3 separate regions of the Homo sapiens genome follow, and all the other regions are linked to region 2. The links are contacts of gene promoters, found by promoter capture Hi-C in blood cells and fetal thymus (Javierre and others, 2016). All regions are on one chromosome and are shown on one strand. The core of a region is centred on a gene start or on the middle of the fragment in contact, and the rest is flanking DNA. Distances in the headings are between cores, read along the strand shown.

Evidence for each region. The method cuts DNA at HindIII sites, captures the fragments that hold promoters and counts their contacts. A CHiCAGO score of 5 or more calls a contact.
Region 1: a contact is called between a fragment that was not itself captured here and the fragment with the promoter of PIP4K2A in region 2, in 1 of 17 cell types (total CD4 T cells). The highest score is 7.7, in total CD4 T cells.
Region 3: a fragment that was not itself captured here is called in contact with the fragment with the promoter of PIP4K2A in region 2 in 3 of 17 cell types (total CD4 T cells, naive CD8 T cells and neutrophils); the score reaches 6.9 in total CD4 T cells.

What each region holds. Positions count from the first base shown.
Region 1 is chr10:22,015,076-22,019,993 of GRCh38, reverse strand. No RefSeq gene overlaps it. Among named protein-coding and RNA genes, the nearest start is that of DNAJC1, 14 kb to the right of the region's middle. RefSeq lists a silencer at 4,820-4,918. The HindIII fragment of the contact is 917 bases long and covers 2,169-3,085 here.
Region 2 is chr10:22,712,242-22,716,661 of GRCh38, reverse strand. It overlaps PIP4K2A (phosphatidylinositol-5-phosphate 4-kinase type 2 alpha), which reads left to right and starts at 2,084. Exons shown (of 10, transcript NM_005028.5): 1 at 2,084-2,479. The coding sequence starts at 2,336. RefSeq lists enhancers at 1,222-1,829, 1,830-2,438 and silencers at 1,599-2,268, 2,569-2,648, 2,819-2,938, 3,239-3,348. The HindIII fragment of the contact is 12,209 bases long and covers 1-4,420 here.
Region 3 is chr10:21,994,938-21,999,594 of GRCh38, reverse strand. The region is part of intron 1 of DNAJC1 (DnaJ heat shock protein family (Hsp40) member C1); the gene reads left to right. Among named protein-coding and RNA genes, the nearest start is that of DNAJC1, 6.5 kb to the left of the region's middle. The HindIII fragment of the contact is 6,758 bases long and covers 1-4,657 here.

The sequences.
Region 1 (4,918 bases), core at 1,378-3,877, 700 kb after region 2:
ATTTTGTTTATCCATTCATCCATCAGTAGACATTTGGATTTCTTCCACTAATTGGTTATTGTGAATAATTGTGCTATGTAAATGGGTATACAAATATCTGTTTTAGTCCTTGCTTTAAGTTCTTTTGGGTGTAGACCCAGGAGTGGAATTGCTAGATCATTTGTTAATTCTGTGTTGAATGAAGAACTGCTATACCATTTCCTACAGCAGTTGAACCATTTTACATTCCCACCAGTAATGCATAAAGGTTCCAGTGTCTCCACATTCTCACAGTACTTCTATTTTCCTTTTCATTTTGTTTATAACAGGCATACCAATGGGTGCAAAGGGATTTCTCATTGCAGTTTTGATTTGCATTTCCCTAATGATAAGTGATGCTGGACATCTTTTCATGTGCTTGTGGCCATCTATATATCTTCTTTGAAGAAATATCCGTTCAAATCCTTAGCCCATTTTGGGGGTTGTTTTTGCTGTTGTTGTTGTAGAATTGCTCTTTATATATTCTGGATATTAATCCCTCCCTTATCAGGTATATGATTTGCCTTTTCACTTTGTTGATGGTAACCTTTAATGCACAAAAGGTTTTAATTTTGATAAATTCCAATTTACCTATTTTTCTCCTTTGTTGCCTGTACTATTGGTGTCATGTCCAAGAAATAATTGCCAAATCCCTCTGTATTTTAAGAGTTACAGTTTTAGCTATTATGTTTAGATCTTTGATTCATTTTTGAGATTGAGTCTCGCTCTGTCGCCCAGGTTGGAGTGCAGTGGGGCGATCTCAGCCCCCTGCAACCTGTGCCTCCCGGGTTCAAGTGATTCTTGTGCCTCAGTCTCCTGAGTAGCTGGGATTATGGGCGCACACCACCATGCCAGGATAACGGGATAATTTTTGTATTTTTGGTAGAGACGGGGTTTCACCATGTTGGCCAGGCTGGTCTAGAACTCCTGACCTCAGGTGATCCATCTGCCTCAATCTCCCAAAGTGCTGGGATTACATGTGTGAGCCACCATGCCCAGCTGATTCATTTTAAGCTAATATTTTATGTGATGTGAAGGAAGGGGTTAACTTTATGATTTTGCATGTAGATATCCAGTTTTCCCTGCACTATTTGTTGAAGACTGTTCTTCTCCCATTGAATGGTCTTAGCACCCTTGTGGAATATCATTTGACCATATGGTATATGAGAAGGGTTATTTCTGGCACCATTTGACAATATGGTACATGGGAAGGGTTATTTCATATACTGTAAGGTATATGAGAAGGGTTATTTCTCTCTTTTATTCCATTGGTCTATATGTCCGTCCTTATGCCAGTACCACACTGTTTTGATTACTGTAGCTTTGTAGTAAATTTTGAAATCAGGAATTGTGAGTCCTCCAACTCTGTTCTTTTTAAAGATTGTTTTGGCTATTTGAAGTCCTTTGAGATTCCACATGAATTTTAGTATGGATTTTTCTCCTTTTGCAAAAATCACTGGTGGGATTTTGATAGGGATTACATTGCCTCTGTAGATCACATTGAATAGTATTGACATCTTCATGATATTGTCTTCCAATCCATGAACACAGGATGTCTTTCCATTTATTAGTGTTGTCTTTCATTTCTTTCAGCAATGTTTTATAGTTTTTATAGTTCTTTTCCCTTGGCTTGGTTAAGTTTATTCCTAAATTTTTTATTGTTATTGATGCTATTGAAAATAGAGCTGTTTTATAAATTTCCTTTTTAGGTTTTTTATTGTTAGTATATAGAAACACAACTGATTTTCGTGTGATTATTTTGTATCCTGCAACTTTGCTGAATTTACTAGTTCTAATAGAGTGTGTGTGTGTGTGTGTGTGTGTGTGTATCTGTAATCTTTAGCCTTGCATTTACCTTTGATTTTTCCCTTTCTCTCTTGCCTATATATGCAAATAACCACCAGCTCATTTCAGTTTGTTTTGATTTCACAGTGTTTCTGATCTTTGACTCTCTTTAGTCTCCTTGCAATCCAATGTGATCAAATGACATTTGTATCCAGAATGTCTGGGATGGTGTGTGAAGAATTCATTTTCTAAAATAGTCATTTTATCTTGCTTTCCCACTCAAAACTCTAGGAGTTTCATGTAACAGTAGAGCTTCCAGTCTACTCCCCCCCTCATCTCAGAGGTAGCACTAGTAGTTAAAAGCTTAGGCTCTGGGGTCAGGAGGACCTGGTGGAGGTGGAGATGCTGCTTACTAGCTGTGTAGCCATAGTTAAGTTTCTCAGACCTGCTCATTCTTTTTTCAGCTGGAAACTGGTGATCATAATAATAACTCCCTTGTAGGGTTATTGGGAGGCTTAAATGGAATAATGAATGTAAAGCATTTAGTGAAATACTCTCTTTCCTGTCCTCTCTCCCTTTGAGGCCTTTAGCTTGACTGTTTCTCCAAAGACACAGATGAAACTGATCTCCTGCCTCCTCTTATCTGTGTTACTCTTTTGGCACTTACCACCTACTTCCTTGTACTGTTTATTATCTTTTTGTGTGTATCCGTGTTATCTTTCCTACCAAATTGTAAATTCTCCAAGGACTGAGAGATTGTCTTTTTTTTCTCTTCTTGTGTTTGTGGCATGTTGTAATACAATGACTTACGACATGGTAAAAGCTGAGTCAATATTTGCTGTTTAATTGTTTGACATAATGAAATCCTTCGGTGGCCTGATTTCCAACATCTTGAGAACTGATATTTCATTTATTTTATCTGAGTTTTTTTTTCAGTGTTTCAGACTTCCGATATTCATCTTGGTCAGAAGTATTAGTTCCCTACTTCGATTTTTAAAAGCTGACAACATTTAAAGATCACTAACAAGAAAGTATTAAAGATGTCGTTACTTCCTGGAAACCATCTGAGTATATTTCAACCTATGTCTCTATCAAAAGTGGGAAAAACGAAGATAGACCAGGGTGGCCAGATAACATACCCAGTTATATCTGAATGTCAGATAAACAACGAATGACTTTTTCATATAAGTATGTCTCATGCAATAGTTGCTTATCTGACATTCAATTTAATTAGGTATCCTGTATTTTTATTTGCTAAATCTGACAACCCTACCATGAAGCTTTAAGTTTCAGGGAAAAAGGAAAATGGGCATAAGCATTATTCTTTTGGAAATGAGACTATTCCTCTGTACTTAAAACAAAATGTTTCCGTGTCAAAAGAATACAGCTTGAGAGGTCATTATGAAACAACTTTTTACAACTATGACCTTACCTAAGATATGTGATGATAAAGCTAATGAAAGATAACATTAACTGAAATATTGACAAACAATGCTTTTGAATATGAATGAAAACATTGTTTCTGTGAAATGCAATTGTGTACCAAATCAAAGAACTGGCTGGGCTTAAAAATCTTTTCTAATGAGTACGTAAAATTGTCATAGCATTTGCATATCTCTGTCTTCCTGAAAATACTGCTGCTCGGTCTGTTGAAAGCATGACCTTGAACTTGCAGGAAATCTTGAGAAATTATCTGTGGCAAGTCCTACCACAACTGAGAAGAACATAATATAAATCAGAATTTCTTGGCTATATTTACTCAGGATGGCAATGAGAATTTTTATGTGATTGAAGAACTTTTGGACATATTATTCATTATGGCACCATCTTAGTATCTAACTTGTTTTTGAGTCATGAATAGTTTAATACATACTAATCAAAAATGAGTAATTGCAAGCAGTGTTTCTGTGGAGTCAGAGTTAACTTTGGACTTGTTACCAATGTAACCAATGATTTTCATCAATACAGCCGGTGAGTCAATTCATCACATCCTTTACCAAGTCCTTCACTTGGCCCCGGGTAGTGAAACATGGACGTCATCTTGGAAGTAGTAGCTTACTTAGAGCTGGATACTTTACTATAGCTTACTTGATTGTTTTTTTGTAGGAATCTGATGTAATACAGTCATATATCTGGCAGGAATCTGACATAATACCGTCGGTTATAACTCTGAGAGAGAGACAGGAGTCTTCATTTTTAAATTCAATAATATTTATTGAAAGCCCAATGTAGGCTAATCACTAGTTAGAGGAATGAACAAGATAAAGTCCTTGCTATCATGGAGCTTGCATTCTAGTGAGCAAATCAGACAATAAACAAATGATGCATAAACAAGGGAAATTAACCAAGTGGTAGCAGAGAAGTGCTATGCAGATGATTTAATAAGGTAGTGATGTTTTTTTAAGTTAGGTGATGTTGGGGCTCAGAAACAGATATCCCAAAATATGGTGCTTAGACATGTGGAACTGAAGACGAAGCCTCAAGGTCTCTCTGACTATCCCCCCACCTTCTGTCTCTCATCTGTTGTCTCTGTCAAAGCAAAGGATGAAGCTGTTCTCTGAAGTTCCCTTATCTGCTTAAAATTTGGGCCTGTCAAAGAAAATAATTACCTCTGTTGCCTTCCCTGAGTGTATTTCATTAACTGAACTCACAGGGCCCGAAGAAAGACTGAAGTCTGTCAACACACCTGGACAGACTTGTCACAAACCACTGTCTGTTCTGCAGGCCCAACAGACTTTGTCCCAGTCCACTGTATATTCTTCAAGACTGTTGAATTTGCCTAAAAATAATTTGCCACTCCCCTAAAATCTTTCACACTTCCCCACCTCCCTTTCCCCTAAGAGGAAGGGTATATAACCATCCATACCCCATTGTATGGTGAATTAATCACTCTGTGATTCTCCCCCATGCACATGCCTTTTCTCCTATTCATCTGACTTTTGTCCACTGGTTTTCAGGAAGCTGGGCCTTTAGAGGGTGAAGAGAAAGTTTTCTCTTGGCCCCTGCAGTGATTGGGATTGGCCTATGTAGGGTGATGAAATTTAAATGCAGGCCTGAATGAAGGGAAGAAGCCAGTCATGCAAAGATCAGGAAGCAGAGCTTTGGAGCAGAGGAA
Region 2 (4,420 bases), core at 835-3,334:
TACAGGTGTGTACCACCATGCCTGGTTAATTTTTGTATTTATGGTAGAGATGGGGTTTCACCATATTGCTCAGGCTGGTCTCCAACTCCTGGGCTCAAGCAGTCCACCTGCCTCATGCCTCCCAAAGTGCTGGGACTACAGGCATGAATCACTGCCCCCTTCCTAAATGGTCCCAGTTTAAGTGAGTGTAGGGGTGTGTGTGTGTGTGTGTGGTGTGTGTGTGTGTGTGTGTGTGTGTGTGTGTGTCTTGCAACAGAATGGCATCCTATCCAGGGATGGTTCCCACCTTTTGCCCAAGCTGAGCAGCTGGGATAAGGCTCCCACTATCTGTGACCTTGAACTGGAATAAATGAGTTGGAAAAATGAATAAATCCGTGAAACAAATGACTGTAAAATAAAAATATGTAAGTGTACATTAATCATAAAAATGCACGACAATAAATGAGATAGGAGTGCACTCAGCTACCATATTTGTGATTGTTTTTGAATTTCATGGTAGCAGCAGGTCCTACAGGCAACTTTTGCTTTGCAAACACTTATTCCTTGACTTAACCCAGCACCACAGCAACCATCGCTCACTTAATCACTAGAAATTTGGCAAACCATTATCTTGTTTTTATCAATCTTTAAAAAATGTAGGTAGGCCAGGTGCAGTGGCTGGTGCCTGTATTCCCAGCACTTTAGGAGGCCAAGGTGGGCAGATTCCTTAAGCCCAGGAGTTCGAGACCAACCTGGGCAGCATGGTGAAACCCCATCTCTACCAAAAATACAAGAAGTTTATCCAGGCTTGGTGGTGCGCGCCTGTAGTCTCAACTACTGGGGAGTCTGAAGTGGGAGAATCACCTGAGTCTGGGGAAGTAGAGCCTGCAGTGAGCTGTGATTGCACCACTGCACCCCCAGCCTGGTTGACACAGCGAGACCCTATCTCAAGGGAAAAAATAAAAATAAAAAAGAGGTATAGCTCACATTTATTTTAATGTTTAATATTAGAAGTGTTTTGAATTTTTACTTTGAAGTTCGGTGATGTTTTTGTAACCGGAAATAATGCTGTAGGAACTTAACTCTTTTTTTATATGTCAGCCTATGGCAAATTTGGTTTTGTTATATGTTGTTTTGCTTAAGGTGACAGTTTCCAAGAACCTACTCCGTGAGGACTGGTGAGCTGGGTCAGAGTAAATAGCACAGGATGACGACTGCAAGGACGATATGGGGGCAGCAGGGTTTTAGACATACTTGGAATGGCAGCTTCCTGAGGTAGGCCAAGTATTCTCAGCATAATAAGGGCTACATTTAGGTGTATCTGGAGGAAGACGGTGAACAGATTTCCACGGACGGTGAGTGCACTGGAAAACAGGCAGGGATGGCAAGTACCATAGTGATGGATTGGAAGAAGGTGCACTTTGGGGCATGATTCTACTGGTTAAGCCAAGGGCTCTCGATGAGGTCCGAGGTTCCTGCCCCGGGCACGGAGTGGGTTGGCAGTGACAGCCCAGCCTATTACGTGGGAGTCTCCCTCTTGAATGGCTCCAGGAGGCCCATATCGAGGGTCTGAAAGGCCAGACGGTTATCCGCACAAAAGTATTAAGTTCATTTCAGGGACTGACCCGGCAATGTGCCCGGGTCCTTCCCCTCGGTGCTGGGAAGCCCTGGTCTCCCTGCAGCATTTCACACCTGGCTGGGTCTCCTGACTCGTGGCGTGGGTGAGTGCATGAGCCTCCCTCCTTCGCCTGATCGACGCCTGGGGGCTCCTCTCCCCAACCTCCTCACTCTGCCCACTCTGTCCTCTCCCTCCTTGGGGAGCGGCAGGGGACGCCTAGCCGGGGTCCCCAGGCTCCCGCTCGCAACCCACGGCCTCCTCCGCGGGCAGGGAGCGAACGCCCGGAGGTCGCCCGCGCACAGGGGGCGGCCCGGCTGCAGCGGAGCCGGGGCGGGAAGGCGCAGCCTAACGGTCCAGCTGCCGCGCCCCGCGCCCCGCACCCAGTGCCCCGCCCGCGGCGCCGCAGCCGCCTCCCGCCTGCCCGCCCGCCCCCTGCGTCATGACGCCGGCGCCCAACGCGGAAGCCGCTCGCCGCGCGCCGGGTCCAGCCGCGGGCTGAGCGCGGATCCGCGGCGGGCGCAGGATACGGGCCGGGGCGCGAGCCGAGCGCAGTCTGCCGGGCCGAGCGGGCGGAGCGAGCCGAGTGGGGCTGAGCGCGCCGGCGGCGGCGGGCGGAGCGGAGCGCGGCGCGCCGGGGCCGCCGCCGGGGGGATGCGGCTGCCTCCCCGGGCCGGGGTGTAGAGAGGGCGGGTCCCCGGCCTCGGGAGCACGGCGGTGGAGGGGACATAGGAGGCGGCCATGGCGACCCCCGGCAACCTAGGGTCCTCTGTCCTGGCGAGCAAGACCAAGACCAAGAAGAAGCACTTCGTAGCGCAGAAAGTGAAGCTGTTTCGGGCCAGCGACCCGCTGCTCAGCGTCCTCATGTGGGGGGTAAACCACTCGGTAAGGGCTCAGCTGCGGCGCGCGGTCCCCTTCCTCCTCCTCCTCTTCCTCCTCGTTCCCCTCCTCCTCCGGCTGCAGCTGCTGCGGGGCGGGGAGCCGGAGTCAGCCCTGGACCTCCGGCTGCTCGCCCGCCTCGAAGCCCCCAGCCCCGCGGCGCGTGCCCCCAGCCCTCTGGGCCGCCCAGGCACCACCACTTGCGTCCCCTTTAGATCTATGGCCCGGTGCGGGTCGGGGGTCCCGTGTGCATGTGAGTCTCACGGTGGGTGCCAGTGCCGCCCCCGGTCCGCCCGCCCGCCCGCAGGTCGGTCCCCGCAGCCTGGGAGGTAGGAAGTTTGTGCGGGGCACGGCGCCTCGGCTGTCAGCCCCGGCGGGAGCTGCTGGGGGCCGGGTCCGGGCGACCGCTACCCGGTGTGGGGGCCGCGCGGCGCCCGCGTCTTCCGCTTGCGGGCAGGTGTACCTGTCCCGGGCTGGGCGCGTGCGAGCCTCCCACTGGGGCACTGGGGCGAGGATACCGGAGCGCGAGCAGATTTGGGGCAGCAGCTTTAGTGCTTAGGTCCTTTCTTTTTCCTTTAAAGGCAATATTACTGGGCACAAGTCGGCTTTTTGGCAAAGCAGCAGCCGATGTAAATATGGCTCTGGCGTCGGGCGGCATCCCTGCGCTTCTCCCGCATCGCCCTGCCGCTGTGCGGGCTGGAGAGCCCTTGGCGGGGAGTCTTCCTCCCTTCGTCGCCTCCCCCCACTTTGGGGAGTCAGGCAGAAGTCACCGACTGCGGAAGGGCGGCCGGGGCGGGGACAGCAGGCGGGGGTCCCGGCGGGCGCGGGCGGAGGGGGTCCCGAGTTGGCCGCACCCGCTGTGGGGGGTGTGGGAAAGGCTGGAGAACGCGTGGAAAGGTTAGCGTCACGCACAGTCGGGGATTGGAGGATGCGCCGCTGCGGGCTATGCGGACTGCGGTTCGAGGGTCTGAAATAGCCTCCTGCTGATCTGACAGCGAGAAACTCCTGCAGTTTTAATCCACTTCGATAGGATCAGGAAACATGATCGGAGCTGTTGGCTCAGCCAGGAAAGTTTAAACGAGCTGTGAATTTTGACCATGACCTTAGCCACTGCAGTCACTTAGCATCTGGGGAAAAGTGTAAGTTCGCTTTCCCTGCTTTTGATTTCGATGGATGTCTGTATGTCCTTTTCAGCGTAATGGAAATGACAGAAAACCATGCTGGTTTTTCGGAAAACACACACACAGACACACACACACACACACACACACACACCCTCAATGTAGTGAAGTTGTTTAAAATGCCTAAAAGCATCGTTTTTGTATTTTTCTTCCCCAAGCTGAGCAGGGGGAAGGGCAAAACAGTATCAGGATCGATCGTGTTTGCATGGAGTGAGTGTTTTTGGAAAAGTTGAGAAATGATTATTTTTATCCAGCTTAATGACTGACTCACTGAAGTTCATTTTAACTTCCTGGCAACTTCTTTAGCTATTTGGGAATGTAAGTTGTTACAAGAGCATGCATTACTGCACCAAAAACTCCTCTCTCAAGTTTTATTACGGAAAATGAAATGCAATTTTTCCTAAGTAATAAGTTTACAATGTAGAGTTATGTATAATTTTGTTAAGCTCTTTTATTATTTATGTTAGTAGTTTTTGGGTCCCTTATTACTAGAATAGAAACTTACAATTTAAAAAAAGGATGAATACTGTAGTGCTTACTCATATTTATGGTGCTTTTATCTCCTTTGGAGTTCTGGTGTTTTGGTCAGGAGAGTGTTTCTGTCTCGGGGTTTAATTTAGTAAGGTAGTGTCAACAATATGCTGCCGAAAAAGAGTGTGCTTTCTGGGAACTCGTCTGAATTCCAGTTTGCCTTAAAAAATCTTGTAATTGTGTATGTTTTACTGTAACCACTTACGTTGCTACCTTATATTTATGAATTGCTACA
Region 3 (4,657 bases), core at 646-3,145, 720 kb after region 2:
GAATCCCAGCTACTCGGGAGGCTGAGGTAGAGAACTGCTTGAACCCGGGAGGCGGAGGTTGCAGTGAGCCAAGATTGTGCCACTGCACTCCAGCCTGGGCGACAGAGCGAGACTCCGTCTCAAAAAAAAAAAAAAAAAAAAAAGAGTCAAGAAGATGGAGGGGAATCAACAAAGAAGATAGAGCAGGAACGACCAGTAAGGTAGGAGGCAAACCAATACAAGGTTCTCTTCAGTCAAGTGAAAAAAGTGTTTCAAAGACAAAGGGATCAGCTGGGTTAAATGATGATGATGATTCAAATAAGATGAGCTTTGAGACTTCACCGTTGGAATTAACCGTATGGCGGTCACAGGCTACCTCAGTAAGAACTGTTTTGGTGAAGTGGTGAGTTCAGTAGTCTGGGTAGATTGGGTTCAGGAGAGAATGAAAGGGAAGAATTGGAGACAATTAATATAGAACATTCTTTTGAGATATCCATATCCTAAACTAGAAGGCAGAGATGGTAGTGACTGTCTGTGGCATCTTCTTTATCCCCTTATCCACCAGGTATAAGATAACTCAGTTACTCTCTAAGCTCTATAATCTGAATAACAGATGACTTAGAACTTGGACCAGACCACCTTATGACCTTGGACAAGTTAGTTGCCTCATTTTTAGGACAGATGGTAGCTTTTTATTTTCTTCATAGTAAGGCACATAGTAAACACCTAAATATTTATTGAATCAAACATTATAAACATTGTAACTAAATGCAAACTGTAATTCCCCAAACAAGTAGTTGCTTGACAGTTTTTACTCAACAGATTTTACTTCTATGTAATCTTTCACAGCCTTCAGGCAGCAGAAGAATCTTCTTCCATGTATCCTTAGATTTCACGTCCATTCTAGAAGTCTAGAAAGGGGTTGCAGAAGTCTTTGTTGGGGGGTATATACAGATGATTTATTAGTCATTCATACCATGTTTAGAATGACTTTAATAATAGGGCACTCCAATTTGGATATTGCATCTTTTCAGAGGAGATGGGGGGAAGATGAGAGAGGAGTGTAGGAAAAAAGATGTGCTATTGAAAGATCTTTCGTTACCATCTTAAATTATAGGTTCCTGCACAGTATTTATATTTTGTGTAACAGCACCTGCTTCTCAGACACCTGTACTTCTTGTGGGGTCAGTGGCAATTCTGTATTTCTTTTTTTTTTTTTTTTTTTTGAGATGGAGTCTTGCTCTGTCGCCCAGGCTGGAGTGCAGTGGCGCGATCTTGGCTCATTGCAACCTCTGCCTCCTGGGTTCACGCGATTCTCCTGCCTCAGCCTCCCGAGTAGCTGGGATTACAGGCACCTGCCACCATGCCTGGCTAATTTTGTATTTTTAGTAGAGATGGGGTTTCGCCATGTTGGTCAGGCCGATCTTGCACTCCTGACCTCAGGTGATCCACCCACCTCGGCCTCCCAAAGTGTTGGGATTACAGGCGTGAACCACTGCGCCCAGCCTCTATATTTCTTTTAATTGTCTTTTGGGACCATGACTTTCCTTATCCTTTGTATACAGTAATTCTAGCCAACAGTAAACACTTCATATTCATTTAAAAAAATCTGTGAATTGAAATAATGACAAGCTAAATTATCTTAAATTTTGTAGTATTTACTTTATGCTGAAGTCAAGATTTGTCTTCATGGTGCCAGTCAGTCATTACAGACTTCTATTTATGTAGCTAGAAAATGTGCTTCATTCTCTTTCTCTCGTGTTTTATAACTAAATCCTTATATTCAAATGAATGCTGAAACTTGGTTAACAGAAGAAAAGCAGAAGAACAGGGATGTGCTTATAAAATATTTGGATTTTAATTTTTAGATAGGAATTAATAAACCTTTTAAGCTCATTCGGCCTGTATTTTCAAATGTACAGATTAGCTAGCCTGTTTAGAGGAGGGACAATTATTGCCCATTCATCCGTGCCCCATGGTTGGGAGGAACTTCCCTAAAAAAACACCACTGATCACTAGACCCATCTCTAACATCTTACCATGGCGGTGTGAGTTACCTTACTGGAGGGTGATTGCCTTTGCTCTGTTTTGCTTGATTAGGAAGAGCTGATCAGTCAGAAAGCTATGAGTAGTGGGAATCAGTCTCTTTGCACCTCTCTGCCCAGACCAGTAAGGCAATTATCCTAACCAGACTTACCCTTGAGCATACTGTCTCAAAGTCTAGAATGTAGAGGAGAGGGCACAAATTGCTAGCAAGCCCATTTGGCCATCACATTTAACCTGTATTCTTCAATAGCTGTATCAGTTATAAAGGTTCATCTCTTGTCTGCCCGACTCCTGTGTCCACTCAGTTTTTTGGATGGGAAAAACCAGTTAATGGGGCCTCCCTAAAGCCCATCACAGTCCTTTTTAGAAATGAAGATGATGATTTCATTCATGAATGATGGTGAATTTGTACTGTGATTATCAATTTTGTCCAGTGATTCTTGCAGTGGAATCCACTGAGCTTGTGGTGTTGAGTGTAGTTCAGTCTTTCTCTGTGGAGTCTATTCCTTTGTACATGTGTGTTGTGTAATAATAGCTTCCCCATTTTTATTGTAGAATCCAATTTTTTTTAATTTGGAGAAAGAGATACACAGAATCTAGAATGGTAGATAACCTTTCAGTCATTTATATTTCTGATGTAGGCATGCATAGCGTTAGAGCTGAATAAGTACTTGTTTAATTGTATACATCTTTGCATCAGATAGAATTATCATAAAATTAGTTTTCTTATGTACACACTCTTTTTGTGATATGTATAGTTTAGTGGAAGATGCCTGAGCCAATTTTATGGGATAAAGCAAGTCTATTGTGAAAATTTTGCCACATATAATCTAGAGCTGATGGAACAGAGACTTTCTTTTAGTTTTAAGTTTCCTTTTTCCTTTTATGCTATTCTCAGTTTTTTCTTTACACTAATTATGAGAACACTCTTAGAATATTGTATCTTTTGTTATTCATAGACAATAGCCTAAGTTGAACTGGGAAAGTGGAATGGCTTCTGCTATTACAATTATTCCTAGAAATATATTCTAAAACGTTATATGGGTTACCAGTTTACCTAGTGATTGGTTTAATGTGGTTAATTTCACAATCATATTTTGTTCAATGTTGAGAATAAAACAGAGGTTGAGGTTATTTGACTTGATTGCTGAGAGGAGAATTTATATGGCAGTTGTAAGTAATGCCAATAAAAGTTGTTTGATAAAATGCCTAGTGTCTGTAATAAACCTTTTCTCAGCTTTGTTATGCTCTCTCTCAGTGAACTGCTTATTCCATAAATGGTACTATGTGACTTTCAGAACTGTTTTCCACTGTGGGCATTATTGGGTCTGTTTAGACAGTAATGATACCAGTTAATTCCACCTAGTTGAAAACAATTCCAAAGCCTTTCTTACAGAGTTATACAAAAATAAAGGAAAGGAATTGCAGTGGAAAGAGAGATTTCTGATTGGATGAAGCAGGACCCTAGATCATTTTATAATGAAGTCACAGTCATATTTTCAAAAATCTTTATTTTCATCAAAACACTTAATTGTAAAAGATGGGCCCTATACTAATGAATGTAAAAATATGATTACATGTTTTAAATAACAGCATAGTATTTCATTTTAAGAACTGAATAGTTGATATTTGAGTATTACTTATATTTACTGAAATTTTTTGTCTAAGCGTGTCATAAGGACCTAATTAGAAATTTAATCTAGAATTTATGTTTCATTTCCCATCTTATGTAATACTAAATTAAGCAAGGTGAGGATTCATTCACCATATTTGATAAGTGTTTCTGATTACATCATCCAGCAACTGAAATCTCACATGTAACCAGGCATATTGCAAAAGCAAGGGCATGCCACGTTCTACATTTTTGTTAGAATATGTGTATAAAACAGTATACTTCATTATCAGATGGATGCCTGTTTTATTGCTACTGAGGCAGTAGGCATTAAGCTCTGTGCAGCTACACAGTTAACTAATATATTTGAGTTGCTTAATATTAAAGCTAATAATCTAAGATCAAGAATTAAAGGACATGCCATAGTATATGCAGCAGTGTTAAAATGGAGAAGAGCAACGTTAAGATGCCACTAAGAGCAAATACTAGAATTCTAAAATGACGTAATTTCCTTGGTTAAACACATTCTGGAATACATACAACTCCTGGTTATAGAAGGAAATAGAATTTTAAACTGTTACATGAAACTCAACTGTGGCCTGTATAGTGAGCAGTAGTCAAAATGAGTTATGACCAGAAAGAAAAAGATCATTGTTGCCATTTACTGGGAAAGTATGAATAGACCATGAAGAAATCTTAGGGTCCGTACACATGAGGAAGGTAGAAACTTCTTATTTCTAGTCAATACTTAAGGACTTTATTTATACCATTAAAACAGGTCAGGTTAAGGAATCTATTCCATGACCAACTGAATTTATACTTTAAAAAGAAACCTCTGACTTTTAGAAAATTTTTTTTAATTGCAAATCTTATTGGCAGTTATTTTCAATTACCACACTTTTCGTTAACAGATAAGATTACTATTTAGGTTCTTTTCTGACTTAAAGTGGTGCTTTGTATTGATAGTTGGTGATTAAGTTTGATTTGCGGAAGTTAACATGTATAAATATATATAATATA